Linked DNA regions of Homo sapiens: regions 2, 3, 4, 5, 6 and 7 are each linked to region 1. Evidence: promoter capture Hi-C in 16 types of primary human blood cells and fetal thymus (Javierre and others, 2016). All regions are on one chromosome and are shown on one strand. Each heading gives the region's core, a stretch centred on a gene start or on the middle of the fragment in contact. The rest is flanking DNA. Distances are from core to core; before and after follow the strand shown. Region 1 holds the start of KRTAP5-5 (keratin associated protein 5-5). Region 2 has its middle 33 kb from the start of MIR483. Region 3 has its middle 55 kb from the start of MIR483. Region 4 has its middle 10 kb from the start of MUC5B. Region 5 has its middle 27 kb from the start of H19. Region 6 has its middle 7.3 kb from the start of H19. Region 7 holds the start of MRPL23 (mitochondrial ribosomal protein L23).

Region 1 (3,628 bases), core at 675-3,174:
TCCTAATGTGGAGCACAGGAGCAAAGTCTACAACATACTCATGTCTGCTTTACGCTGAAAAGGTGAAAAAAATTAAAATTAACTAAAATTAAAATAGCAAATGACTAGACAGGAGCATATGCACCTTATATAATACACACATTTCAGGGGGCATTTGCTCAAAAGCTACATAATCGTGGGGTGCCCCACGGGACAGGGTGAGACCACTGCCATGTTGATTGTTCCATCAGAGCATTGTAAGAGGCCCTCTGATGATCCTCTTTGCCCAATTCAGCGAACCCGAAGGTCATCAATGGACCACGAAGAACAAAGGCCCATGAAAGGGAAGATGTTCCCAAAGTACAAAAGGAAAAGTCCTCTTGTACCCGAGGGAAGGAGCTGATCCAAGGGTGTCACTAGGAGTCAGCGCGGGTGTTGATACATTACTTCAGGGGCTGGAGGCAAATATACGAGGTACTGGAAGCAAATGTATCAAGCACTGGGACAAATGTATCAGGCGCTGGATGCAAATGTATCAGGCACTGGATGCGAATGTATCAGGCGCTGGATGCGAATGTATCAGGCGCTGGATGCGAATGTATCAGGCGCTGGATGCGAACGTATCAGGCGCTGGATGCGAATGTATCAGGCGCTGGATGCGAATGTATCAGGAAGCAAATGTATCTGTTGCCTCTGTTCCAGAGCTGGAGGATGCCGCCTCTGGTGGGGACAGCCAACACAAGGCGGCTCTCTCCTAATGGGTTTTCTGTTCCTCCCTGAGATACAGTCCCCTGCCCCAGAACAGAGTGGGGCTCCAGCATACACGGCAAGAGTCACCGAGTGCCAGCTGGTGTTTACACCGTGGCCTGAGGCCTGTTGACTGGGCTCGGGGCACTCACAGGTATTGTGGTCACGGGGGCAAATGGCCATCCGGTTCCCTGCTCTCCACCGGCTTTCTTTAGCATCCAGTGGGCCTGCACCCGAATGTAGTTGCTGCTTCCCAGGCTGAGCCCGGGACCCGGAGCAGGCGGGCACCCAGACAGGGCATCCTCTTCCGCTCACTGGCCCTGAAAGGGCCTCTGCCATCAGCCTGTGCCGCTGTCCGGGAGCCCCTGGGCCGGCCACGCAGTGGGGGAACCCGCTTCACAGCGACACCGTGCGGCGGCAGGAGGAACCGCTGCAGGAGACAATGCGATCTGGGTCCTGACCCAGCGCAGAGGCAGTGTCTGCCCCTTGCAATGCTTGGATTTCCTTCCTCAAAAGGCAGCCTTCGATGATCTGAAATTCAAGTTCCAGCAGGCATCCTGTACTGTATCTGTCAGCCCTGCCACCCGAGTGGTCTGAAAGCCCTGGAAGAGACCGCGGTTATCACAGGAGAACACTTTCCATGGGGAGCACGCAGCAAGCTCCAGAATAAGCGCTTAAAATCCCCGTCTCAGTCAACACTGCAAACCTTCCAACAAAGTCTTACACCGAAAACGACCCTGCTGAGCTGAGGGCTGAAGCCCCAGGTCCTGGGACCCTTGGAAACAGCCCGCGGGCCAGGAGCTGCTGTGGACCGTGAAGGTGTAGGGCCTAGGCACGTCCCAAGCAAGACACGATGCTCCCGCAGAGGAATCTTCCCGGGAGCAAGCCAGGAGTCCTGGGCTCAAAATCACCCTCGGCAAGACCAAGGCCTCTGAGCGAGCCACTGCCTGCCCATCGCTTCCTTCTTGTCACATGGAAAGGGAAACTCACCGCGGGGCCAGTGTTTACTGAGGGGCCGCTTCCATCACAGACCTGACAGCACATTCGAGAAAAGTGCGAGGAAAACAGGAGTTATTTATAAAAATGTAAAGCAGAAGAGAATACTGGGACCAGTGGCACAAGCAGGAACCAGGAAGTGACAGTGTGCCCAGCCTCTCACCTGACCCTGGACAGGGATATAAAGAGCCCGGGCTCAGGGGGCTCCACACCTGCACCTCCCTCTCACCTGCTCCTCTACCTGCTCCACCCTCAATCCACCAGAACCATGGGCTGCTGTGGCTGCTCCGGAGGCTGTGGCTCCGGCTGTGGAGGCCGTGGCTCCGGCTGTGGGGGCTGTGGCTCCGGCTGTGGAGGCTGTGGCTCTGGCTGTGGGGGCTGTGGCTCCGGCTGTGGAGGCTGTGGGGGCTGTGGCTCCGGCTGTGCGGGCTGTGGGGGATGTGGCTCCGGCTGCTGTGTGCCTGTCTGCTGCTGCAAGCCCATGTGCTGCTGTGTGCCAGCTTGTTCCTGCTCCAGCTGTGGCAAAGGGGGCTGTGGCTCTTGCGGGGGCTCCAAGAGAGGCTGTGTCTCCTGTGGGGTGTCCAAGGGGGCCTGTGGCTCCTGTGGGGGGTCCAAGGGGGGCTGTGGCTCCTGTGGGGGGTCCAAGGGGGGCTGTGGCTCCTGTGGGGGGTCCAAGGGGGGCTGTGGCTCCTGTGGGGGGTCCAAGGGGGGCTGTGGTTCTTATGGCTGCTCCCAGTCCAGCTGCTGCAAGCCCTGCTGCTGCTCCTCAGGCTGTGGGTCATCCTGCTGCCAGTCCAGCTGCTGTAAGCCTTACTGCTGCCAGTCCAGCTGCTGTAAGCCCTACTGCTGCCAGTCCAGCTGCTGTAAGCCCTGTAGCTGCTTCTCAGGCTGTGGATCATCCTGCTGCCAATCCAGCTGCTACAAGCCCTGCTGCTGCCAGTCCAGCTGCTGTGTCCCCGTGTGCTGCCAGTGTAAGATCTGAGGCTCTGACTGCAGACTGCAGGTGGCCTGACTGGTGAAGGGCCCGGCTGCCCAGCTTCCTTGCCCTGGGTTCTCTGGTGCTCCACTGTCTCCACTGTGTCCTCACTGGCTTCATCCACTCCACACCAGTGCTCCCGAAACTGACTGAGGACCCCTTCTGGCTCATTGCCTACTACTTCTCCTGAACTTCCTCTCCCTGCTCCTCACTCATTTAAGATCCAAAGCGGCCCACTGAGGCCCCAGAGGCAGATCAGACCCCTTAGACCCTGACAGCTGCTCCTTCTTTCAGGAGTGTGATCGACCCTCAATCTCTCTGGCTGTCTGTATATCAAGACTGAATCCTGACCCTCTAAATAAACAAAGTCTCTAAGCACAAAGCTCACTGTCTTGTGGTTCTCTCCTTCCCACCTCTCTCTCATTCCCAGAAGCACCATCTTCTTGCCTCCACCCCTGGGCCTGTTCCCATTTCTCTCCCCTCAGCATCTTTCATGTCATGGTCCATGTCTTCATGCACAGAACTAACGTCTATAGCTTTCTGCTCTGGGCCCCTTGTTGTGTTGGGCTCCAGAGATGACAGAGCAGAGTAAATCCAAGCTCACAGTCTGGTATGTGGGGAGAGGTGGGGAGAGGGAAAGGTGGTGAGGGCGGTGGTGTCAGCCGTGGAGGCACTGCCGTCCCGTGGGAGGGAGGGAAGCTCAGGGCCAGGCCACTTCAGCGGAAGGATGAGGAAGGGTCTGTATGCTGAGCTGTGCGGTACATCAGGCCCTAAGAAGCCCCTAGTGCATGCAGGAGCCAGACGTGGAGATGCGGAGGAGCTTGGGCTTATCTGCAATCTCACAGGGCCTTGAAAAACCAGACAGGAGAAGGCAGGACTGCACACAACGCCAGCTGCGGGACACAAGCTCGAAGGCAGCCGGGAGTTGAA
Region 2 (3,628 bases), core at 782-3,281, 470 kb after region 1:
GTCGGACCCCCTGCAGGGACCTCCCCATCCTCCCGGTTGGGATGCCTCCTCCTCACCCCACGCGGTTGGCCCCATCCTGTCTGCTTCAGAGTCGCTCCCCTTCTAGAGTGAGCTCCTTGCAGGTAGGAGCCTTATCCCTGAATGCCCCTTGACAAAGAGGGTGCGTCACAGCCTCCTGCCCGGACAGAGCACCTGGAGTGGAGACCGGACCGCAGGGCGTCTGAACATGGCCAGAAATGCGGGTCCAGCTGGGGTGGGGACTTCCTCCTCTCTCCTCGAGGCTGTGGCCAAGCTTATCCTGAACCCAGAACTCCCACCAGTCTCAGCCCACATCCCTTATCACTCCCCCTTCTTTCCTGGTGCCTGCTGCCTGCCCCCACCCAGCTCCTGCAGCCCTGAGTAGGTGATATGCCGGTGCCCCTCCCCTGCTGTCTCCTGTCCTGGCTGGTGCTGGGCACAGCAGGCCAGCTCTGCTCTTTTTGATATCCCCAGGTTCTAAGAAGCGGCTTGGCTGACCCCAGCCCACCCTCCTGAGGGTCAAAGCTGGCCCAGACACGCTACAGTGCCCAGCACCTGCTCCCTGGGACCCTCCCCATGGCCCCCTCCCACCAGGGCTCATTGGGATCCTCAGGAACTGCTGTCCCCACTTGTGGCGTGTCCCCAGGTCTTGGCCCTCAGCAGACAGCTCCTCAGCCTGCCGCTTCCCTTGTGAAGTGTACGTAAGTGAAACATCCCTATGCTGGCCCTGCCAGCTGGCACAGGGCAGACTCTGATGAAGAGCAGCGCCTGGGTGCCAGGGGGCCCTCGTGGCCAGGCTGCTGGGCTGGGTGCACCCACACACTCCTCTGCCTGCTCACCTGCTGGCCACGCCTCTCACTGCAGCCCTGGTGGAGGATGCCAAGCGGGAGCCGCACCCCCGCCTTGCCTGACAACAGTACCCGTCACCCGCTCTCAGCCGCAGCTCCAGCAGCTGCTCCCCTGCCCTCCCCGGCCAGCGGAGGAGACTGGAGTGGGCTACAAGGAAGGCAGGCCCCACACTCTTGGCCCTGCGCCCGAGTGCCCTTGCCAGGCCAAGTCAGACCACAGGACAGGCCACAGTGGTAGCAGGGCCTGGAGGACAGGCTGCCTGAGGCTGGCCTGGGTGGGGGCGGGGCAGAGTGGGGGCTGGGCTGTGTGTGCCAGGGGCCCTGCATCCTGTCCTCCTCTTTGGAGAAGCCCAGGCTCCTCCGGCCTCTCTTGCCTCTAAATCATCTGCTTTTCAGCCTCACTAATTCGTGCAGGGTTCCTTGGCTCATCCACACATTTATTGGGCACCTACTGACTGCACACCCTGCTGGGCTTCAGGTCCTGTGTGCCCCAGTAAGAACAGCTCAGTTCTGGCACAGATCTTAGGGGGCGCAAGGCAGAGCCGCCCCTGGGGCCTGCCCCGCCTAGGCCTGCAGACGTGTTTTCCTCAGCCCCACCGGAGCTCACTGCGAGGGTAGCTTTTCACCGAGCCAAGGTGGCCCCTGTGCCCAGACAGCCCAGATTACAGTGGGCATACGCTGGGGCAGACGCCGGCAGGGCCGCCTTGTTATCTCAGACGCTGACGTCACCTGTCTGCGGGAGGTGCAGGGGGGCCACTTCCCGGGGCCAGGCAGGAAGCCCGCCCAGTGCAGAGAGGGAGGTGCCCAGGCCCATCTCAAGCTTGCTGGGCCCAGGGGACCAGAGCCCCTGGGTTCCCTGATGCAACCAGGCCCCACTCTGCACCCCGGGGCCTCCTAGGCTGGCCTGGCCCTGCCCCTCCGTCTGCCCTTCCCCAGCCCAAAGCCCGCAGGACAAGTGGACAGCCCAGGCCGGTTGCAGTCCTGCATGCTCTGCTGAGCTCCCTGAGTCCAGGTTTTGGGGGGCAGTGGCTTTGGGCCAGGGTTCAGGGGTTTATTTCACAGGTCCTTCCAGGTGCCCCACAGTTGCTGAGTGGGAGACTGGCACTGGGGACTGGTGACAAGAGACCTCCCGGGCAGGCCCCTGGCACGGGCTGAAGGACGGAAGCTGGAGGCAGGGAGAAGCCAAGGGCATTGGGTTTGCAGACTCCATGGGGCAGGACAGGAGGGACTGGATGCCTGGGGAGGTTGGGGCAGGACTGTACCCAAGACAGGGGATCAAGCCTAGTACAGAGCCGAGCAGCGGGAGGGACCACCCTGCCAGGCCAAGGGAGGAAGACCCGGGGCCTCCAGACACAGTGTACCAGAGGAGAACCCTTCCCATCCAGCATGGCCAAGCGGGACCCGTGTGGCACTTGAAGCTGGGTCCCTGGACTCACCACCTTCCCTCACTGGACCCCTCGGCAGCCATGCAGGTGGGGCTCACTCCCCTTTCTACTCGCCACCCTGCAGAGGAAGCTTCTTCTCGGCCAGCTGGCCCACCTGTGCCCCTCCCTCAGGAACCCCACCTGGCCCACCCCACAGCTCCTGTGTGTTCCCAGGGGCATCTGATCCTTCAGCCTGGCCCCTCTTTCCTCTCCAGCCACCTGTGCTGCCATTCCAGTGACAGCCAGGCCAAACTCCCTGCTGGGTCCCCAAATGTCAGGGCGTCTCTCTCACCTCTGTTCCCTCCTCCTGGAATGCCCTTCCTGCTGCCTCATGGCACGCTTCTCTTGGGCCGTTTCACAGGTGTCGCTTGGGGCTTGAGGATTTCAACCTCATGGGTTTTTAGATTAGAGTTAGAAAGAGGGGAGACCTTCACCTGGAGGCAATGATTCAAAGACAGGCAGATTACTTCTCTCCATCGACCCGCACAACCATCTTGGCAGCCCATTTTACAGAGAAGCCTAGACCAAAGGAATGAGGTGTCTTTCAAAGGCCACACAGAGCCAGGAGAGACTCTTCCCCACACTGACGTCCACTGGGACCCCAGCCTTAGTGCTCCCTGTGTGTGTCTGTCACTGTCATTGTGGAAAATAAAAGGTCCTGAAAGGACAGTCTCAGGTCCTGGTCCTGGTCTTAGATGTGACTTATGATGACTTCAAATCCATAAGACACAGATGCAGTGGGTAAATTGAGGCAGCCTCTTGTTTCTTAGCCAAAGAACTTGTTCAAGAAGTTTTCTTAGCAATGGGCTTCCAATTATCAAACCTGGATGATATAGAATTGTGGTGGAAAGGGTGGTAGATAGGTGGGTGGATAGATGGGTGGGTGAATTGATGGATGGATGGGTGAGCGGATGGATGGATGGATGGATGGATGGATAAATGGATGGATGGATGGATGATCGATGGATGGGTAGGTGGGTGAATGGATGGAGGTTGGAATGGATGGATGGATGGATGAGTGAATATGTAGGTGAGTGGAAGGATGTGTGGGATGGATGGGTGGATGAGTGGATGGGAAGGTGGTGTGTGAATGGATGAATGGATGGTTGAGATGGATGGATGATTAGGATGGATGGATGGATGGACGGATGAAAGGATGAGTGGGTAGAGGAAAGGATGAATGGATGGGTGAGTGGGGGATGTGGAGACATGAGGATGAATGTAGACGTATGAATAAGTAGGTGGATGAATGAAGAGCAGGTGGGTAGATGGAAGGGTGGATGAACAGTTGGATGGAGGAATGAATGGATCCTCAAATAGCACTTTCTTTGGCTAAGG
Region 3 (3,628 bases), core at 630-3,129, 450 kb after region 1:
CAGCTTTATTGAGGTATTATTGACATACAATAAACTGCACATATCTAAAATGTACAGTTTGATACATTTTAAAACGCGAAACTTGTGTCCACTCATGTCCTCAGAAACGGTCACCATGATGGGGACAGTGGGCACGTCCCCTCCCTGACGGTGTCCTCCTGCCCCTTTGTAACCCTTCCTGTCACTCTTCCCTTTCCCCAGCCCCCATGAGCCACTGCTGACCTGCTTTCTACCGCATTTCTGAGTTTCACTGTATATATGGAAATATACAGTGAGTCTTCTTTTTCCTCTGGCTTCCTTCATTCAGAAAATTCTCTTGAGCTTCACCCTTGTTTGTTGTTCTGTATGAGTAACTCACCCCTTCCTGTTGCTAACTATACCCTCCTGCCTGGCTAGACCAGAGCTTGTTTTTATCTGTTCATCTGTTGATGAACACCTGAGTCATATCCAGGTTTTGGCTATTACAAAAAAAAAAAAAAAGATTCTGTGAATATTCATGCACAAGTCTTTGCATCAACATATTTTTTTTCCTCTTGAGTAAATATGTAGGAGTGGAATGGCTGGGCCCTGTGCTGGGTGAATATTCAACTTTCTAAGAAACTGCCAGATTGGTTTCCAAATGGTTGTACCATACCCTGTACCCACAGTGAGAATTCCAGTTCCACCACATCCTCAGCAACGCTGGTTATAATCAGTCATTTCAAGTTTAGCCGTTCTGTTTACCCGATGACAAATCAGGCTGAGAATCTTTCCATGTACTCATTTGCTAGCTGTTTATCTTATTTGATGGAGTGTCTGTTCAAATCTTTTACCATGTTTAATTGAATTGTTTGTTTTCTTATTGTTGAGTTTTGTTAACTCTATATCCTTCATCAGATTAATGATTTGCAAAGATTTTCTCCCTGTCTGTGGCTTGTTTTTTCATTCTCTTAACAGCCTCTTTTGTGAAGCAGTTTTTAATTTGGCTGAAGGCCATGTTATCCATTAGTTCTTTTATGAATTATAGTTTTGGTATAACTAAGAAATCTTTGCCTAACCCAAGGTCACAAAAATGTTCTTTGATGTTTTCTCCTAGAAATTTGGTGTTTTTAGGTTTTACATTTAGGTCTATCATCCATTTTGGGTGAATTTTTATATATGTGAGACATGGCTTGAGGGTGTGTGGGTGGGGGCTTGTGTATGGTCATTGTTCCAGCACCACTGGTTGAAAAGCTTGTCTCTCTCTCTTTTTTTTTTTTAACAGCATTGACTTTGTATCTTTGTCAAAATAGTTGTACACATATGTGTGGACTCATTTGTGTGGACACATATGTGTGGACTCATTTGTGTGGACACATATGTGTGGACTCATTTGTGTGGACACATATGTGTGGACTCATTTGTGTGGACACATATGTGTGGACTCATTTGTGTGGACACATATGTGTGGACTCATTTGTGTGGACACATATGTGTGGACTCATTTGTGTGGACACATATGTGTGGACTCATTTCTGGACCCACTGCTCAGTTCCATTGTTCTATTAGTCTGTCTTTTTTTTTCACTTTTTTTTTATTTTTTACATATATATATATTTTTATTATACTTTAAGTTCTAGGGTACATGTTCACAATGTGTAGGCTTGTTACATATGTATACATGTGCCATGTTGGTATGCTGCACCCATTAACTCGTCATTTACATTAGGTATATCTCCTAATGCTCTCCCTTCCCCCTCCCCCCCACCCCACAACAGGCCCGGGTGTGTGATGTTCCCCTTCCTGTGTCCAGGTGTTCTCATTGTTCAAAGTAAACTAGTTCAACCATTGTGGAAGACAGTGTGGTGATTCCTCAGGGATCTAGAACTAGAAATACCATTTGACCCAGCTATCCCATTACTGGGTATATACCCAAAGGAATATAAATCATGCTGCTATAAAGACACATGCACACGTATGTTTATTGTGGCACTATTGATCTGTCTTTATGCTGATGCCGCACTATAACAGCTGTTGATACCAGATTGTGAGACCCCTCCAACCTTTTTCTTCTTTTTCGGAGTTGCTTGGCCTTTGCATTTTCATATGAATCTTAGAGCTTGTCAGTTTCCACAGTGAAGACTTTTGTAATTTGGATTGAGATTGCATTTCATCTGTAGATCAGTTTAAGGAGAATTGACGTCTTAACATTAATGAATCTCCTGGTCTATGAGAAAGGTATATCTTTCATTTATTTAAATTTTTTTAACTCCTCTAGGTAATATTTTGCAGTTTTCAGTGAATATACCTTTTGCATTTCTGTCAAATTTATTCCTAAGTTCTTCATATTTTGTATGCCATTGTAAATGTTGTTATTTCAATTTCTGAGCGTTGATTGCTAATATTTTTCCATTTCATCTAAGTTGTTGAACCCATTGGCATAAAGTCATTTATAATATTCCCCTATTATCCCTTTAATATCTGTGGAATGTGTGGTTGGGTCACTTGCTTCTGATATTTGGAACTTAGGTCTCTTTTTTCCCTCTCTCCTTCTCTTCCTCCCTCCCTCCTGCCCGATCACTCTGGCTAGAAGCTTATCAATTTGACTGAGCCTCCCAAAAAACTAATTTTTACTTTCATTGGTTTTCTCTTTTTTTCTGTTTCCTATTTCATTGATTTCTGTTTTGATCTTCATTCTTTCTCTTTTACTTGGGTTTAATTTGCTCTTCTTTCCTCAGTTTCTTAAGGTAAAACTTGAAGCCGTTGCTTTGAGACACTTCTTCTTTTACAATATAGCAGCTAGTGCTATACTTTTTTCTTTAATGACCAGTTTATCAGCATCCCACAAATTTGCATGTGCTGTGTTGTTACTTTTATTCAGTTCAACAAATTTTCTAATTTGCCTTTTGATTTTGTCTTTGATCCATGAGTTATTTAGAAGTCTGTTATTTGGCCTATTATTTAGTTCTTAATATTTGGGAATTTTCCAGAGATATTTTTGTTATTGATTCCTAATTCTATTCTGTTATGGCCAGGTAATACATTTGGCATCACTTGAATTCTGCTGAATTTAGTAAGACTTATTTTATGGCCCAGAATATGATCTATCTTTATAAATGCCCCACCTGCACTTGAGAGGAGAGTGTAGTCTGCCGTCGTTGGGTGGAATGGCCTATAAATGTCAATTGGATCAAATTTCTTCACAGCGCTGTCTACGTCTACTCAATCCTTACTGAGTTTTTCTGCCTGCTCGTTCTCATAGTTATGGAGAGGGGGTATTGAAATCTCTGACTGTAATTATGGTTTTGCTTACTTCTTGCAATCTCATCATGCATTTGGAAGCTATATGATTAGGTGCCTAAATGTTTAGGATGCTTATTTCCTCTTGAAGAATTGACCTCTTTATCATTATAAAATAGCCTTCATTATCCTTATAATATTCTTTCCTCCAAAACCTCCTTTATCTGAAATCAGGATAGTCACTCCAGCTTTCTTTAGACAAGCATTAGCATGTTGTAACTTTTTTCATTCTTTTTCTTTTGGCCTATTTGTGTCTGTATATTTAATGTAGGCAGCACACAGTCAGGCCTTGCTTTTTAAACCCAATTTGACATTTTCTACTTGTAATGAGGTTTAGACCATTTGTATTTCATGTGATTATTGATGTCAT
Region 4 (3,628 bases), core at 586-3,085, 420 kb before region 1:
ATCACCTGAGGTCAGGAGCTCAAGACCAGCCTGACCAATATAGCAAAACCAGTCTCTACTAAAAATACAAAAAATTAGTCAGGTGTAGTGGTGGGTGCCTGTAATCCCAGATACTTGGAAGGCTGAGGCAGGAGAATTGCTTGAACCCAGGAGGCAGAGGTTGCAGTGAGCGTGCCATTGCACTCCAGCCTGGGCAACAGAACAAGACTCTGTCAAGAAAAAAAAAACACACCAAGAAACAGCCTTTGCAAAGTTCACTTAAAAACATCTCGAATGGATCACTGTAGCCTTCAATAATAAAAAAGAAGAGAAAAACCCAGCCAACACTAGAAAAAGGGGGAAATCTGATTTCCAGAGTTACCACATTATAATAGTTAAATCCCCAATTTTCAACAAAAAAATCACAAGACTTACAAAGAAACAATATAGCCCATCCAGAGGAACAAAATAAACTGGGAGAAGTTATCCCTGAGTAAATTCAGACATCAGTCTTACTAGCCAGTGATTTTAAAGCAACTGTCTTAAGTTGCTCAAAGAACTAAAGCAAAAGACGGACAAAGAACCAAAGGAGGTCAGTAAGACAATGCACGTACAAAATGAGAATACCCACAAAGAGACAGAAATCTTTTTAAAAAGAACCAAACAGATATTCTGTACTTGGAAATTATAATAACTGAAATGAAAAAAAATCACTAGAGGGGTTCAACAGCATATTTGAGCAGTTATAAGAAAGGCTCAGCCAAACTTGAAGACAAGGCAATTGAAATGATCAAGTCTGAGGAGCAGAAAGAAAAAAAGATTGAAGAAAAGTGAATAGAATCTGAGGTGCTTGTTGACCACCAAGTGGGTCTTACAGGAGGAGAGAAAGGGAGAAATTATTCAAAGAAACTCAAAAAAATTCAAAGGAACAAAAATGGCCAAAAGCTTTCTAAAATTGATGAAAAACATGAATCTACAAATCCAGGGAGTTCAAGAAACTCCAAGTAGGATAAACTCAAAGAGATCCACACTGAGACACATTATAATCAAACAGTTGAAGGATAAAAGCAAAGAAAGAATCTCAAAAGCAAGAAGAGACGTGACTTGTCGTATTTAAGGGATCTTCAGTAAGATTGGCAGCATATTTACCATCAGAAACCTTAAAGGCCAGCAAGGTAGTGGATGATAACATTTAAAGTGCTGAAATTAAAAAACAACAACACTGTCAACCAAGAATTCTATATCTGGCAAAACTGTCCTTCAAAACTTAGGGTGAAATTAGGACATTACCAGATAAACAAAAGGTAAGGGATTTGTTGCCACTAGCCAAGCCCTGCAAGAAATGCTACACAAAGTCCTTCAGGCTGAAATAAAAGGACACTAGACAGTAACTCAAAGCTGTAAAAAGAAATAGATCTTCACTGAAACTACATACATGGCCAAATATAAAAATCCAGTATTACTGTAAATTTGATTTTAATCCACTTCTTCTTTTCTACAGGATATAAAAGGCAAATGCATAAAAATAACTATAAATCTATGTTATTGAATACACAAGGTATAAAGATGTAATTTGTGACATCAATGAAATAAAGGGAGGGGGTGGAGCTGTGTAGAAGGAGGGTTTTGTGTGCAATTAAAGTTATGTTGGTATCAATTCAAACTAGACTGTTATAACTTTAGGATGTTATATGTCATCCCGAGGGTAACCACAAAGAAAATGCTATAGAATATACACAAAAAGAAATGAGAAGGGAATAAAAATTTGTCACTTCAAAAAATCAACTGAAGACAAAAGAAGGCAGTGATGGAGACAATGAGGAACAAAAAATTAGAAGACATACAAAAAAATAGTAAAATGGCAGTGGTAAGTACATCCTTATTAGTAATTACTTTAAATGCAAATAGACTTAGACTCTCCATTTAAAATGCAGAGACTGGTTAAAATCAATTTTTAAAAAACCATGATTGGCTGGGCATGGTGGCTCACGCCTGTAATTCCAGCACTTTGGGAGGCCAAGGCAGGCGGATCATGAGGTCAGGAGATTGAGACCATCCTGGCTAACATGGTGAAACCCCATCTCTACTAAAAATACAAAAAATTAGCCGGGCATGGTGGTGGGTGCCTGTAGTCCCAGCTACTTGGGAGGCTGAGGCAGGAGAATGGCGTAAACGTGGGAGGCAGAGATTGTAGTGAACCAAGATTATGCCACTGCACTCCAGCCTGGGCAACAGAGTGAGACTCTGTCTCAAAAAAAAAAAAAAGTCAATTCAACAAGAAGATATAACAACTATAAATATATATGAACCAAACAACAGAGCCTCCAGGTATATGAAGCAAACATTGTCAGAATGAAGGGAGAAATAAATAGTTCTATAACAATAGCTGAAGACTTCAGTACCACACTTTCAATAATCAATACAACAACCAGACAGATCAATAAGGAAACAGAGGACTTGAACAACACTATAGACCAATTAGACATAATGTACATGCACAGAACACTTCACCTACCAACAGCAGAAGACACATTTTTTTCCAAGTGCACATGAAATATTCTCCAGGAGAAACTATATGATAGGATCCAAAACAAGTCTTAATAAACTTTCAAAGATTGAAATCACACAAAGTATTCTACAAAGGAATGAAGCTAAAAATCAATAATAAAAGAAAAACTAAAATGTACAAATATGAGGAAATTGAATATCACACCTTTAAATAACAAACAGGTCAAAGAAGAAATCACCAAAGATATTAGGCATTCTTAAAGCTTGAATGAAAACAAAACCACAATGTATCCAAACTTATAAGACACACAAAGGTAGTAATGAGAGGGAAATGTATAGCTAGAAACAACTAAATCAAAAAAGAAGAAATATCTTAAATCAATAACCTAATTGTATACCTTAAGGAACTAGAAAAAGAAGAGAAAACTAAACCCAAAGCTACCAAAAGGGAGGACATAATAAAGGTTACAATAGAAATAAATAAAACAAGGAATTTTAAAAAATCATAGGAAAAAAAGCCTTCAATGAAACCAAAAGTTGGTTCTTTAAAAAGATCAACCAAATTGACAAACTTTTAGCTAGATTGGCTAAGAAAAAAGAGAAGATTCAAATTACTAAAATCAGAAATAAAAAGGATATTACTAAAAATTTTACAGGAACAAAAACAATTATAAGAGAATGCTATGAACAATTGTCTGCCAACAAATTTGATAACTTAGAAGAAACAGGCAAATTCCTCAAAAGCACTCTATGTAGCAAAACTGCCTCATGAAGAAATAGGCAAACTGAGTAGATGTAGAAAAGGAGATTAAGTCAGTAATCAAAACCCTCCTATATAAAGAAAATCACAGGGCCTGATGGCTTTACTGGTTAATTCTAACAGGCATTTAAAGAAGAATTAACACCAATATGTATCAAATTCTTCCAAAAGATTGGAAAAAAAGGGCAACCGTTCTGTATTAGTCCATTTTCATCCTGCTAAAGAAATACCCATGACTGAGTAATGTATAAAGAAAAAGAGGTTTAATGGACTCACAGTTCCACATGGCTGGGGAGGCCTCACAATCATGGTGGAAGGCAAAGAAGGAGCAAAGGCACATCTTATATGGCAGCAGGGGAGAGAGTGTGTGCAGGGGAACTG
Region 5 (3,628 bases), core at 390-2,889, 390 kb after region 1:
TTGGCTGAGGACACAGAGGCTGTGGACTTGCCGGCTGTAGCTGCCCTCGGGCCCCCACACAACCTGGCTGCCCAGGAAACAAACTGGAGGCTGGAAACCGGCCCCTCTGAGCGTGGGCCACAGGCGAGGCTGCCTGCCGAGTCCTGCCCTCCCGCAGGCCCTGTCTACCCCGGCTGCCTTCCTTCCGGCCACCACTGAGGATGGGAGCATCCTGGGGGTCTGTGTCCAGGCAGCCAGCTGGATGCAGGAGGGCACCCCGGCCGCATGGAAGCTGCCTAGAAGTCCAGGCCCATCGTGCTGCGCTGGCCCTGGGCCTTCTGAATGTCATGGCTCCTTACTGGGCTGTGCTGGCGGGAAGATGGGACCTTGGGGCATTGGCTCTGCAAGTGTCTAAATGGGGGACAATTTCCAGTGTTCCCCCATCTCCCCTGCAGATTCCGTGGGCCCTGGGGAGGGGACACCCCTGCTGCCCACCCCTCCCTCCAGGGTGGAGTGAAGTGGCTCTCCCTGCACTGTCTGGGGCTCCCCTCGCCTCCAGTTTGTCTGAGGAGCTCTCAGGAGTGCTCAGAGGCTCGAGAAGAGGGAGGTTCAGGGAAGCAGCAAACTCTAAACCTTTGTTTCTTGGGAACCTGGGCTTGTAAGGGCTGGGTGTCTGGAAGGGCAGCGAGGCCCTGTGTGCTTGGGCATTGTGCGTGTGTCTGTGTGTGATGTGCATGGGTGTGTGCGGGTGTGGGGAGATGGGTGTGTGTGTGTGGGTGCAGGGAGGTGGGTGTGTGTGTGCAGGTGTGGGAAGGTTGTGTGTGTGTTGGTGTGGGGAGGTGTGTATGTGTGTGTCTGGGGAGATGGGTGTGTGTACAGGTGTGGGGAGGTGGGTTGGTGTGTGCGGGTGTCTGTATGTGGTGTGTGTGTGTTTGTGGGTGTGTGCGTGTGTGTGGTGGAGGAGGCTGGACTGCCCCTGTAGGATCAGAGTCCACCTTTGGAGGGGCCAGCCCGGCCAGGGCCACGGCCGAGATGTAGCCGGGGGACTCTGCAGGGGCCACCAGCACCTCACTTGGCCACCCTGGCTTCTCAGCTTTCCTGACGGCCTCCAAGAGAGGCAGGTGTGGTGTGGGATGCCAAGGCCCCTGTCCCATTGTGGCCCCATTGCCATTGCCATCCTCACCTAGGCTCCTTTGGGGCCTCATCTGGCCAGCTGGATGGTGGGCAGCCCCTGGCTGCAGGCCTCCACCTCCACTCTTGTCTGGGACACCTCCTGACATTGGGGCCCTGAGGAGCCCCCACCTCCCTCCTGCCCACAGCCCCTGCCCGGCTGTCTGGCCAGGGGGTGAGAGGTGCGTCTGTTCTCGCCTGGCCAGGCAGAAGGCAGGAAGGTTCCTAAGCTCTGCTGCCTGGAGGTCCCCGTGTGATCTGCAAATGTCGATCGTGTTTGGTTACATTTAATAGAGGAGAGGAAAATTTCTTCTGAAACCACCTCGTTGGCTTCAAACCAAGTGTGGGAAAGCAAGAGCATCAATCTTTCCCCTTTTAGAACAAGTTTTCTTTTTCCAAAGGGAAAAATTCCAGGCTCCATCTTTCTTTATGTGCCTTCCAGGCAGCGACCCCCCGACCCCCAGCTCCAGGGCTGGGTTGCCAATGCGACAAAGCAGACGGGCCCCCCCACCGGCACCTACCTGGGGCCTGCTGCTCCTTCCTCCAAGGTGCTCTGGGGTGTGAGTCGGAGCTGCACCCCAGAAACGGCTCCCGAGGAACAGTGTCTGTGAGGCTGGGTGCTGGGGCCGCCTGCACCCCCCTTCCCCTCCCAGGGCCCTGCGGGAGACTGCAGGTGGGCACGGACTCACAGCAGCCTCTGGAAAGGGCTGCAGAGGGGCTTGCTGGCTGACTGGCCAGGGACCAGGTTGGGCAGAGACCCCCAGGCGGGAGGGTTGGGGCTCACCAAGATGCTCAACTCAGATGAGAGGCCACCTGCCCACACTCTGGCAGGCCAGCTATCAAGACCGGGGGCTTCTGTCCTCTTTCACCCCTCCTCTCCCTCTCCCTGCCCACAAGGGTCTTCTTATACCCAGGCACCGGCCCCCGTTCCTGTGCCCTCTCTCCTCACCCTCGTCCAACTCCAGGAGCTGCCTGTGGTCCTGAGGCCTGGAGCTGAAGTCCTGCATGGCACCAGTAATTGTAATGGCCACATGTTCCCCTGCAGAAGAAAGGGGAAAAAAGACCTTTTCCAGCTGACATCCAGGCCGGGGGAAGCAGAGCATTTGAGAGGCGCAGGTGCAGGATCCCAGCCACGCCCAGCCCCGTCACCAGGCAGGGCTCCCTGGGGCACAGGTGTGCTCGGTGGCTGGAGGCCCCTGACTGCTCCCTTTGCGCAGGGAGCTCAGTCCTCCCAGCCTCTGTGTGGACCATCGCCGAGTGTCTAGGCCTGAGCAGGTACAGGCGATGCTGTGGATGCTGGCCAACCCCCTCTGTGCTGTGTGCCTCCTGATCTTCCCAAATTCCACCCCTGTCTGGTCCCGAGCCAGGGATGGACCATGGCCTGAGGGTGGGCACAACCCTGACCCCTCTCCCTGTGTCTCATCCACTTGCTCTTGCCACCTGGATGGGCACAAAAAACCCGATGGCCGTGGAGATCCAGGAGAACCCCTAGAAGAGCCTCGGGCACCCCCTCACCCACGATGACCATAGAGGGCCAGGGGAACCCAGAGGAACCTCAGGCACCCCTCAACCCATGACGGCCGTGGAGGGCCAGGGGAACTCAGAGGAGCCTCAGGCACCTCCTCAACCCATGACCCATGACGGCTGTGGAGGGCCAGGAGAAGCCCCAGAGCAGCCGCAGGCACCTCCTCCCCACAGTGGCTGTGGAGGGCCAGGAGAACCCTGAGGAGCCCCGGGTGCCCGCCGCCCACAGCGATGCCCTGACCCCTGGCTTCTTGAGGACCACCTTCCCATCCCCTGGTAGATGCTAAAAGGGAGGACACTGGCTGACGGAGCCCCTGACCTCTCCCTCCTGACCAGGTGGCCATTCTGGGAAGCGTGGGCTGAGGGGCCAGCAGCACAGCCTGTGCCCTGGCCCTGAGTGCGGCTGGCAGGTGGCCTTGGGAAGGTCTCCCTGCCAGGTGTGAATGGTGGGCACTGCTGCTGCCACTGCCACCTCACTGGGTCCAACAGCCAGGGACCAAGTGCATGTCTGCTCAGCACAGGTGGGCAGTGAGGGGCAGCCCATGTTCATGGCACAGTCCCTGCCAAGTGCCCACTGTGTACCCACCCCGGGGGACAGTCCAGGAGGGGCTGGTGGGAAGAGAACAGGGTGTGGCTGAGCTCCAGCCTTGGGTGTGGGCTCTCGGTCTCAGAGGGATGGCCAGTGGCAGAGAACAGAGACCTGGCTGAGGGCAGGTTTCTGCACTGTCACTGGTGAATGAGCACTGGGTCCCCAGGCTTGAGGGGGCTTCAAAGGGGAGAATGCCCTGAGCAGGGGCTGGGGACAAGAGAAGGAAGGCCTGCATCCTGGAGCGAGAGCCAGTGCTACAGCCAGGAGGGGCCAGTCCCACTCCCTTATTTGACACACGGAGAAACTGAGGCTGAGAGTGGGATCTGGGTTTGCCTGACGGCCGGGCCTTGCTTTCTTTGTGTTTAT
Region 6 (3,628 bases), core at 431-2,930, 380 kb after region 1:
GCTCCCAGCCATGCATGGGCTCCTAGACAGCCCCAGGGTTCTCCCATTGGGAAATGCCGCTCTACTACACATCAGCCACAGCGCATTAATGCTTGGTTCTCCTGGTGAAACCGCCTCTGCAAAAATTATTACAGAAAATCGGCCGGCGGTGGTGGCTCATGCCTGTAATCCCAGCAGTTTGGGAGGCCGAGGTGGGTGGATCACCTGAGGTCAGGAGTTCAAGACCAACCTGGCCAACCTGACGAAATCCCATCTCTACTAAAAATACAAAAATTAGCTGGGCATGGTGGTGGGCGCCTGTAATCCCAGCTACTTGGGAGGCTGAGGCAGGAGAATCACTGGAACTCCGGAGGTGGAGGTTGCAGTGAGCCAAGATCGAGCCATTGGACTCCAGCCTGGATGATAAGAGCGAAACTCTGTCTCAAAAAAAAAAAAATATATAACAGAAAATTATGACAATGAAAGAGATCTGACGTAACCAACTCTGTCTTGCCTTCTTATTCATTTCTGGGTGCAGGCTGGACTAACTTTGGGAAGAACTTAGTTTATAGTTTATCTTTGAAACAAAGACAATAACAGCCCTTTCCCAGGACAGACCCTCTTCCTGCCTGGGGACTAGACTTTCAGGACTAACAAATTAGCCACAGATTAGAAATTATGGTTTAGGAGTCATGGAGTCACACATCTGGAGGCTGAAAGATTTTTAACCTCCTCAAATTGCTCCTAGGATTACATCACTGTTGCAGAACCTAAGATCAGTGGTTGAGATATTTCGCAGACCCTGTACTGGGTGGATCAGCTGGCACCCCCCAGATTGATAAACTGGCTCATCTAGTCTTGTGGCCCCCACCCAGGAACTGACTCAGCAGAAAAAGATGGCTTTGACTCTCCATGATTTCATCTCTGACCCAACCAATCAGCACTCCCTATTGACTCGCCCCCTACCCACCAAATGATCCTTAAAAACTTTGATCCCCAAATTTCCTGGGAGACTGATTTGAGTAATAATAAAACTCTGGTCTCCTGCACGGCCGACTCTGTGTGAATTAAACTTTATTGCAAGTCACCTGTTGTGATAAAGCAGCTCTGTCCAGACCGGCGGCAGGGAGAACCTGTTGGGCGGTTAGACGGGTTCAGACACTACTCTCCTGGGGGTGATGGACATCTCTTCTGTTCACTGATTCCCGGAGGAAGATTTGGGAGATTTTGCCTGGGAGCAGGCAAACACCTCGGGCTATTTGCTTTCTAATGGGGCATTTGCATGTGTATAGGACAGACCGGGAGCTGCCCAGTTTCTGCTTCCAGGCGCACCTGCTAAGAGTAGTCTTGCCAGTGAAGCGACTGCTGGGGTACAGCAGCACAGCACAGGGGACCTAGTTTTTTTTTGTTTGTTTTTTTGTTTTTTGAGTCTCGCTCTGTCCCCTAGGCTGGAGTGCAGTGGCATGATCTCGGCTCACTGCAGGCTCCGCCTCCCGGGTTCACACCATTCTCCTGCCTCAGCCTCCCAAGTAGGTGGGACTACAGGCGCCCACCACCTCACCCGGCTAATTTTTTGTATTTTTAGTAGAGATGGGGTTTCACCGTGTTAGCCAGGTTGGTCTCGATCTCCTCATCTTGTGATCCGCCCGCCTCAGCCTCCCAAAGTGCTGGGATTACAGGCGTGAGCCACCGCACCCAGCAGGGGACCTAGTTTTGAGGACTACTGGGGTCGGGTCTGGTCTGTGCTGGCCACGGTAATGGTGAGTGCCTGGGTGCTATGATCCACACACAGGGTGGCACCAACATGAAAGTGGCCAGAGCCCCAGCCAAGGTGCCCAGAGCACTTGGGTGGGGATGTGGGCACAGCGCTGTCACCTGGAGGCAGATGTGGGCACAGTGATGTCACATGGACAGGTATATAACCACAGTGATGTCACCAAGACAGGACGTGGGCACAGTGCTGTCACCGGGATAAAGATGTGGGCACGGTGCTGTCATCTAGATAGACACATGAGCACTGTGTGTCACCTGGATAGGGATATGGCACAGTGTCACCCGGATAGGGACATGGCACAGCGTGTCACCTGGATAGGGACACAGGTATAGCGTGTCACCTGGGTGGGACATGGGCATAGCACATCACCTGGGTGGGACACGGGTACGGCACGTCACCTGGATAGGGACACGGGTACGGCACGTCACCCGGGTGGGACACGGGTACGGCACGTCACCCGGGTGGGACACGGGTACGGCACGTCACCCGGGTGGGACACGGGTACGGCACGTCACCCGGGTGGGACACGGGTACGGCACGTCACCCGGGTGGGACACGGGTACGGCACGTCACCCGGGTGGGACACGGGTACGGCACGTCACCCGGGTGGGACACGGGTACGGCACGTCACCTGGATAGGGACACGGGTACGGCACATCATGCGGGTGGGACATGAGTACAGCGTGTCATTAGATAGAGGGGCTTTCTCTTCTCTCTCCCCTGTGGCTGGGACCTACCCAGATATAAGTAATGGGATAGCCCACTTGGGCTTTGCCAGTTCCCTGAGGCTGCCATAAGGAAGCCCCAGAAACTGGGCTGATTGGAACAACCACGTGGAATGCGTCTCTCCCTGTTTCGATGCTAGAAGGTCAGAGTCGGGGTGGTCAGGGCTGGCTCCTTCTTCGAGCTCTAAGGGAGGCTCCAGTGCTGGCCGACTTTCCCAGTGTTCCCAGGCTCCCAGACCTGTCACCCCAGCCGTGCCCATCTTCCAGGATGCTCTCATCCTGCGCCTTCACGCAGCGTTGCTCTCTCGTGCCTCTCCTCTACCTGTGAGGACACCATGATGTTTGATTCAGGGCCTGCCCTACTGCAGTCTGACCTGATCGATTGCGTCTATAATGACCCTATTTCCAAATGAGTTCGTGCTCTGAGATGCTGGTGGTCAGGGCTTCAACTTGTCTTTTCTGGAGAGGCACTAAACAGACTCCATGAGGAACTGAGGAGTCCAGAGCAGTGAGATGGAAGGAGGCTGGGCCCTGACCCTGGGAGCTGGCGATCTTCACACTCATGACCCTCTCATGTCTCTCTCCGTGACAGAGAAAAGCCAGCTCTGGGCCCATTCAGGATCGTCCTGGGGTTTCCTGGCTGTGGCAGCTGTACCTCCCTCTCACCTGTGCCCACCACTCCAGAGCCGGTGTGTGGGCTCACGCTGGTGGCTGAGTCCTGACCGTGGGGTAACCAAGGGGGAGGCATGAAGATGAGGTCCCGAGAGGAGACACAGGACCGTTCTCCTGATGTGAGCAGGGGTGAGCACAGTCTCATAGGACTGTGTCCTTATAGGAAGAGGAGAGGAGGACACAGACACACACGGAGGGATGACCCCGTGAGGACATGTGGAGAAGGCAGGATCTATAAGCCAAGGAGAGAGGCCTTGGAGGACCCAGCTCTGCAGCAGCCCTGATCTTGGACTCCAGCCTCCAGGACTGGGAGAGGATATATTTCCCTCATTTAAGCCTCCCGGTCCATGGCGGTTTGTTGCGGCAGCCCTGGCAGACTCACCCGGCTGCAACGTGACCAGTGGGTGGAAGCGGCCACCACATTGGCATCTGCTGGGGTGCTGCCTGGGTGCTGCTGCTGCGCATGCCTGGTGTCACC
Region 7 (3,628 bases), core at 334-2,833, 320 kb after region 1:
CAGCATTGCATGAACATAAAAGGAAGCCTGAGGACCCCCGGCCCCAGGACCCCCCTTCTCCAGCTCCATCCCTGTCCTGCGGTCTGCTCCTTGGGCCTGGCCAAGGGCACCTGCTGCTGGGCAAAGGCCTGTCTGGTCACCAGCCTCCTGGGACCCTGCCACTGGCAGCCTGGAGCTTCTCCACCTCACGCAGGCCTGGACAACAGTGGGGACGGCTGCCACCACCTTCCCTGCCCACTCTGGCCCACTTCTCACTCCATCCTGCTTCAATGCCTTCATGCTAGATAGACCCCCTGGAGTCATTTCCACTCAAACCCACCCATCAGGAGGAACTCCAGCCCTACCCGGCCCAGGCCCTCGGAGGGGCACAGTGCCCTCTCCTCCTCCTGAATTTCCATCAACCCCAGTGCCCTCCCGCAGCCCTGTTCCCACCTGCAGGCCTGGGCCCCCTGCCCCCAGCAACAACCAGGACCCATGGCCCCGCTTCTTGCTCTGAAGCATGACACCCCTGCCTCTTGCTCTGAAGAACACTTAGGGTGCTGTTGGGTGCGGGAACAAGCCAGGCTTGGGGGTGGGGGGCACGGGCAGTTAAAGAGATAGATGGAGAAGTGGCCTGAATCCAGCCACCAGGCAGAGGAAACCAGGGGAGGAGGGAGAGGCCTGGGGACAGGGGAGGGAGGCTGCTGCCCTCTACTCCCGAAGGGTCCCAGCAGCCCTCCTGGCCAGCACTACCCAAGGAAAGGAGTGAGGACTGGGCCTTGGACGGGGGTCCCTGTAGAGAGGGCCTTGCCAGAGGCTGGAGGGGGCTGGCCAGAAGGGTGGAGAGGGGGTGAGCAAACGGCAAGGCCTGAAGAGGCCAGTGGCCCTCTTGGAGGAGGCGTGGTGGGAGCACCGAGGATGGACAGCGTGGCTGGTGTGGCCAGCGTGGGGGCTGCCAACCGGGCTGGCCAGAAGGGCGAGGTGAGGGGCCCTGGGGTTCCGGGCTCCCGGGTAAAAACAGCCAGATGGAGAGAGGGGCTTCAGACCCCAGGCCCGGGGACCCGCCCTCCCCAGCACTACAGCCCCGGTTCTCCACTTCCAGCTCCCAGCAGCTGCAAGCGCAGCGGTGCGGGGCCAGGCTGTGGCCTGGAGCTGCCAAAGGGCAGGGGCACGGGTGTGGGGGGCGTGCAGGCCGGGGTCCCGGGAGGCAGGGCAGACAGGCCCGAAAGAGTGCGACGGCGGCGGGAGGTCTCTGGGGCTGGGAGGGGTGCGGGCGTGGGCGGGGCGCGAGCAGCAGGGGCGCGGGCCCGGGCTTCAGGCTGTGGGGCCGGGAGTGCGGGGCGGGACTGCTGCGGCCCCGCGTCCTGTGGAGTCTGCGGCGCGGGGAGTGGGGGTCGGGGCGGGGAGGAACGTGGGGTGCGGGACAGGAGGGGGGCAGGGAGGGAGAAGAAGGCGGCGCGGGGCGGGGCGGGCGCAGGGCTGGGGACGGCACGGGCGCGCGGCACGGGCGCTGGCGCGTGCGGGGGGGGCGGCGCGGCCTCCGGAAGCGAGGGGGCGCTGTGCCAGGCGGCGGCCGTGCGGGGCGGGCGCGCTGCTCCTTCCGCCTCGCGGACCCCGGAAGCGCGCGTGGCCGCCATGGCGCGGAATGTGGTGTGAGTAGGGGTCGTCACCCCCCCGTCGCGGGGCGCCCCTTAGTGTCACAAGCAGACGGACCCCACAGGGCGCGCGGACTCCGGGGAGCGGGGTGGGCGTCCCTGGGCCGCCTCCTGGCCCGGGCGAGGCAGGGTTCTCCGGGACCCCCTGTCATGCCTTGAGACACGCGAGGCGGGTGGCGGAGGAGCCCCCCGCCAGGTTTAGGGCAACCCCAGGGGGCGGGCGTGGCCGGGCTGGGGACAGAGGGTCCGAGCCAAACCCATGGAGGCCACGGTGCCCCCGCGTGGGGAGTGGGAGGGTGGCCCGGGGTCAGGCCCGGGGCTGGTCCCGCAGCCAGGGCCGAGGGAGCTGTTTGGAGACGTTTCTGATCGTCACGGGGCGGGGGCCACGTCGGCTGTTGGGTCCAGGCGGGGAGGCCCGGGCGGCCCCCACCGCAGCGCGGGCGCGGCCTGAGGCAGAGGAGCTGGGAATCCAGATTGGGTTTGAGTGGGAAAGGGCAGCTGACCGCAGCCCTCAGGGCTTTGGGGCAGGCAGGGCGGGAGGCCCGGTTCTGCTCAGCCCAGACCCCCCACGCCCACTCTGCATGTTCTCTGGATTCCCAGGGGGCCATCGGGGCGCTGTCCTGCACCACTTCGCCCTCCCCAAATTGAAGCAGGAAGCCCTGCATATTTCTTGGTGAACGAATGACTCAGGCGTAATCAGTAGATGTGGGCTCCCGGGTGGGTTTTGGAGAACAGTAATCAGTGTTTCTGGAGAGGGACGGTCAAGGGGCCAGGGTGTGGCTTTGGAGGCCCCTGCACATAGCTGGGGAGAGAGGGGAGGGTGGCAGGTGGGACCCCCAGTGGAGGAGGCTTCCTTCAGCAGACACCTGGGACCGGTGCTGCGCGTGGCCCTGACCTTGGGGAACACCCAGCACCAAGGAAGAAAAGGTCTGAGTGAGGCCAACACTGCCCTGAGCCTCACGTGAATTCCACGCTGGCCCTTCGCCTGTCCCTGGAGAATGAGGAGGAAGTGAGGGTCAGAGGACCCGGGTGGGGTGTTCCTGAAGGGCCAAGGGTGGTGGGCCCCTGGAAACGGATCAGGTGTGGTTGCCTTGGAGGCAGCGGGGCCCGCTCGCCCAGCAGTGCACACACTCCTGTTGCCAGGGAGCCTTTGCAGGGAGCGCTGACTGGACTTGCTGTGGACTGGATGCAGCTGGGGTGGGGGTGCCGAGAGGGTGGGATCCTGGGTGAGTCACTCGTGGGGCCGTGGGGAGGCAGGCTGGTGGCAGTGAGCCAGGTTTTTGTGTTTTGAGGAAGAAGTTAGTGCAGAGTTCTACTTGAGATAGGTTACCGTGGAGGTGCTTGTGAAATCCCATGCGGAGTGCTTGGGGTGCTCCCTGGGGAGAGTGGGACTGAGGGAACTGAGGGCTGGTGGGCCCACAAGGGTTCGAGAACAAAAGAGAGGCCTTAGAGCCCTGTCCTGGGGCCCTGGGTGTCGACAGTGCAGATTGTTCCAGATCTGCAGGCTCCATGCACAGGCAGCTGGCGCTCCAGCCTGGAGAGGCTCGGCCTGTGGGAACAAGGACAGTGAATCGTCCTGGCCCAACCCCTGCCAGCCTCTCATCTCAAGCCCACACATGGCCCTTCAGACCCTTAGCAAAGTGTGCCCTTCAGGCCCCAAGCCTGGAGACTCGAAAATTAATGGCCTGGGAGCTGTTGAACCCTCTTTTCTACTGTTTACTGGGAGTCCCCAAACTTTGTCTCCACTCCTGCAGTCCCACAGCTGGTCACCAGAGGGAATGTGTGAGCCCCTCGGGTGGCCATGGCTAGCCTGAACCTGTGGGTAAAACAAGTCAGGCCCCTCCACCTCCAGAGCCCACCCTTTCTTCTCGGCCTCTCACTGGGGCCCACCCCTGAAGGCTGCACTCTGAGGCTTGGAAAGGCCAAGGCCATGCCCAAGAGGAGGCTCTGCTGGGGTTGGGTGAGTGAAGACTCAGCCCCACTGGCCCGGCCAC

What was found. The method cuts DNA at HindIII sites, captures the fragments that hold promoters and counts their contacts. A CHiCAGO score of 5 or more calls a contact.
Region 2: a contact is called between a fragment that was not itself captured here and the fragment with the promoter of KRTAP5-5 in region 1, in 1 of 17 cell types (M1 macrophages). The highest score is 5.0, in M1 macrophages.
Region 3: a fragment that was not itself captured here is called in contact with the fragment with the promoter of KRTAP5-5 in region 1 in 2 of 17 cell types (M0 macrophages and M1 macrophages); the score reaches 5.3 in M0 macrophages.
Region 4: a fragment that was not itself captured here is called in contact with the fragment with the promoter of KRTAP5-5 in region 1 in 1 of 17 cell types (M2 macrophages); the score reaches 5.0 in M2 macrophages.
Region 5: a fragment that was not itself captured here is called in contact with the fragment with the promoter of KRTAP5-5 in region 1 in 2 of 17 cell types (M0 macrophages and M1 macrophages); the score reaches 6.9 in M0 macrophages.
Region 6: a fragment that was not itself captured here is called in contact with the fragment with the promoter of KRTAP5-5 in region 1 in 4 of 17 cell types (M0 macrophages, M2 macrophages, M1 macrophages and 1 more); the score reaches 7.5 in M0 macrophages.
Region 7: the fragment with the promoter of MRPL23 here is called in contact with the fragment with the promoter of KRTAP5-5 in region 1 in 2 of 17 cell types (erythroblasts and M1 macrophages); the score reaches 6.4 in erythroblasts.

What each region holds. Positions count from the first base shown.
Region 1 is chr11:1,627,851-1,631,478 of GRCh38, forward strand. It overlaps KRTAP5-5 (keratin associated protein 5-5), which reads left to right and starts at 1,925. Exons shown (of 1, transcript NM_001001480.3): 1 at 1,925-3,080. The coding sequence starts at 1,991. The coding sequence ends at 2,704. The HindIII fragment of the contact is 5,409 bases long and covers 1-3,628 here.
Region 2 is chr11:2,098,981-2,102,608 of GRCh38, forward strand. No RefSeq gene overlaps it. Among named protein-coding and RNA genes, the nearest start is that of MIR483, 33 kb to the right of the region's middle. RefSeq lists enhancers at 851-1,493, 1,494-2,135. The HindIII fragment of the contact is 695 bases long and covers 1,685-2,379 here.
Region 3 is chr11:2,076,951-2,080,578 of GRCh38, forward strand. No RefSeq gene overlaps it. Among named protein-coding and RNA genes, the nearest start is that of MIR483, 55 kb to the right of the region's middle. The HindIII fragment of the contact is 1,339 bases long and covers 1,211-2,549 here.
Region 4 is chr11:1,210,847-1,214,474 of GRCh38, forward strand. No RefSeq gene overlaps it. Among named protein-coding and RNA genes, the nearest start is that of MUC5B, 10 kb to the right of the region's middle. The HindIII fragment of the contact is 1,826 bases long and covers 923-2,748 here.
Region 5 is chr11:2,022,998-2,026,625 of GRCh38, forward strand. No RefSeq gene overlaps it. Among named protein-coding and RNA genes, the nearest start is that of H19, 27 kb to the left of the region's middle. The HindIII fragment of the contact is 4,354 bases long and covers 1-3,628 here.
Region 6 is chr11:2,003,370-2,006,997 of GRCh38, forward strand. It overlaps a transcript of MRPL23 not described here. Among named protein-coding and RNA genes, the nearest start is that of H19, 7.3 kb to the left of the region's middle. The HindIII fragment of the contact is 6,201 bases long and covers 1-3,628 here.
Region 7 is chr11:1,945,749-1,949,376 of GRCh38, forward strand. MRPL23 (mitochondrial ribosomal protein L23) reads left to right here and starts at 1,584. Exons shown (of 5, transcript NM_021134.4): 1 at 1,584-1,631. The coding sequence starts at 1,615. SNORD131 (small nucleolar RNA, C/D box 131) reads left to right here and starts at 3,583; the gene lies at 3,583-3,628. RefSeq lists an enhancer at 3,513-3,628. The HindIII fragment of the contact is 42,193 bases long and covers 1-3,628 here.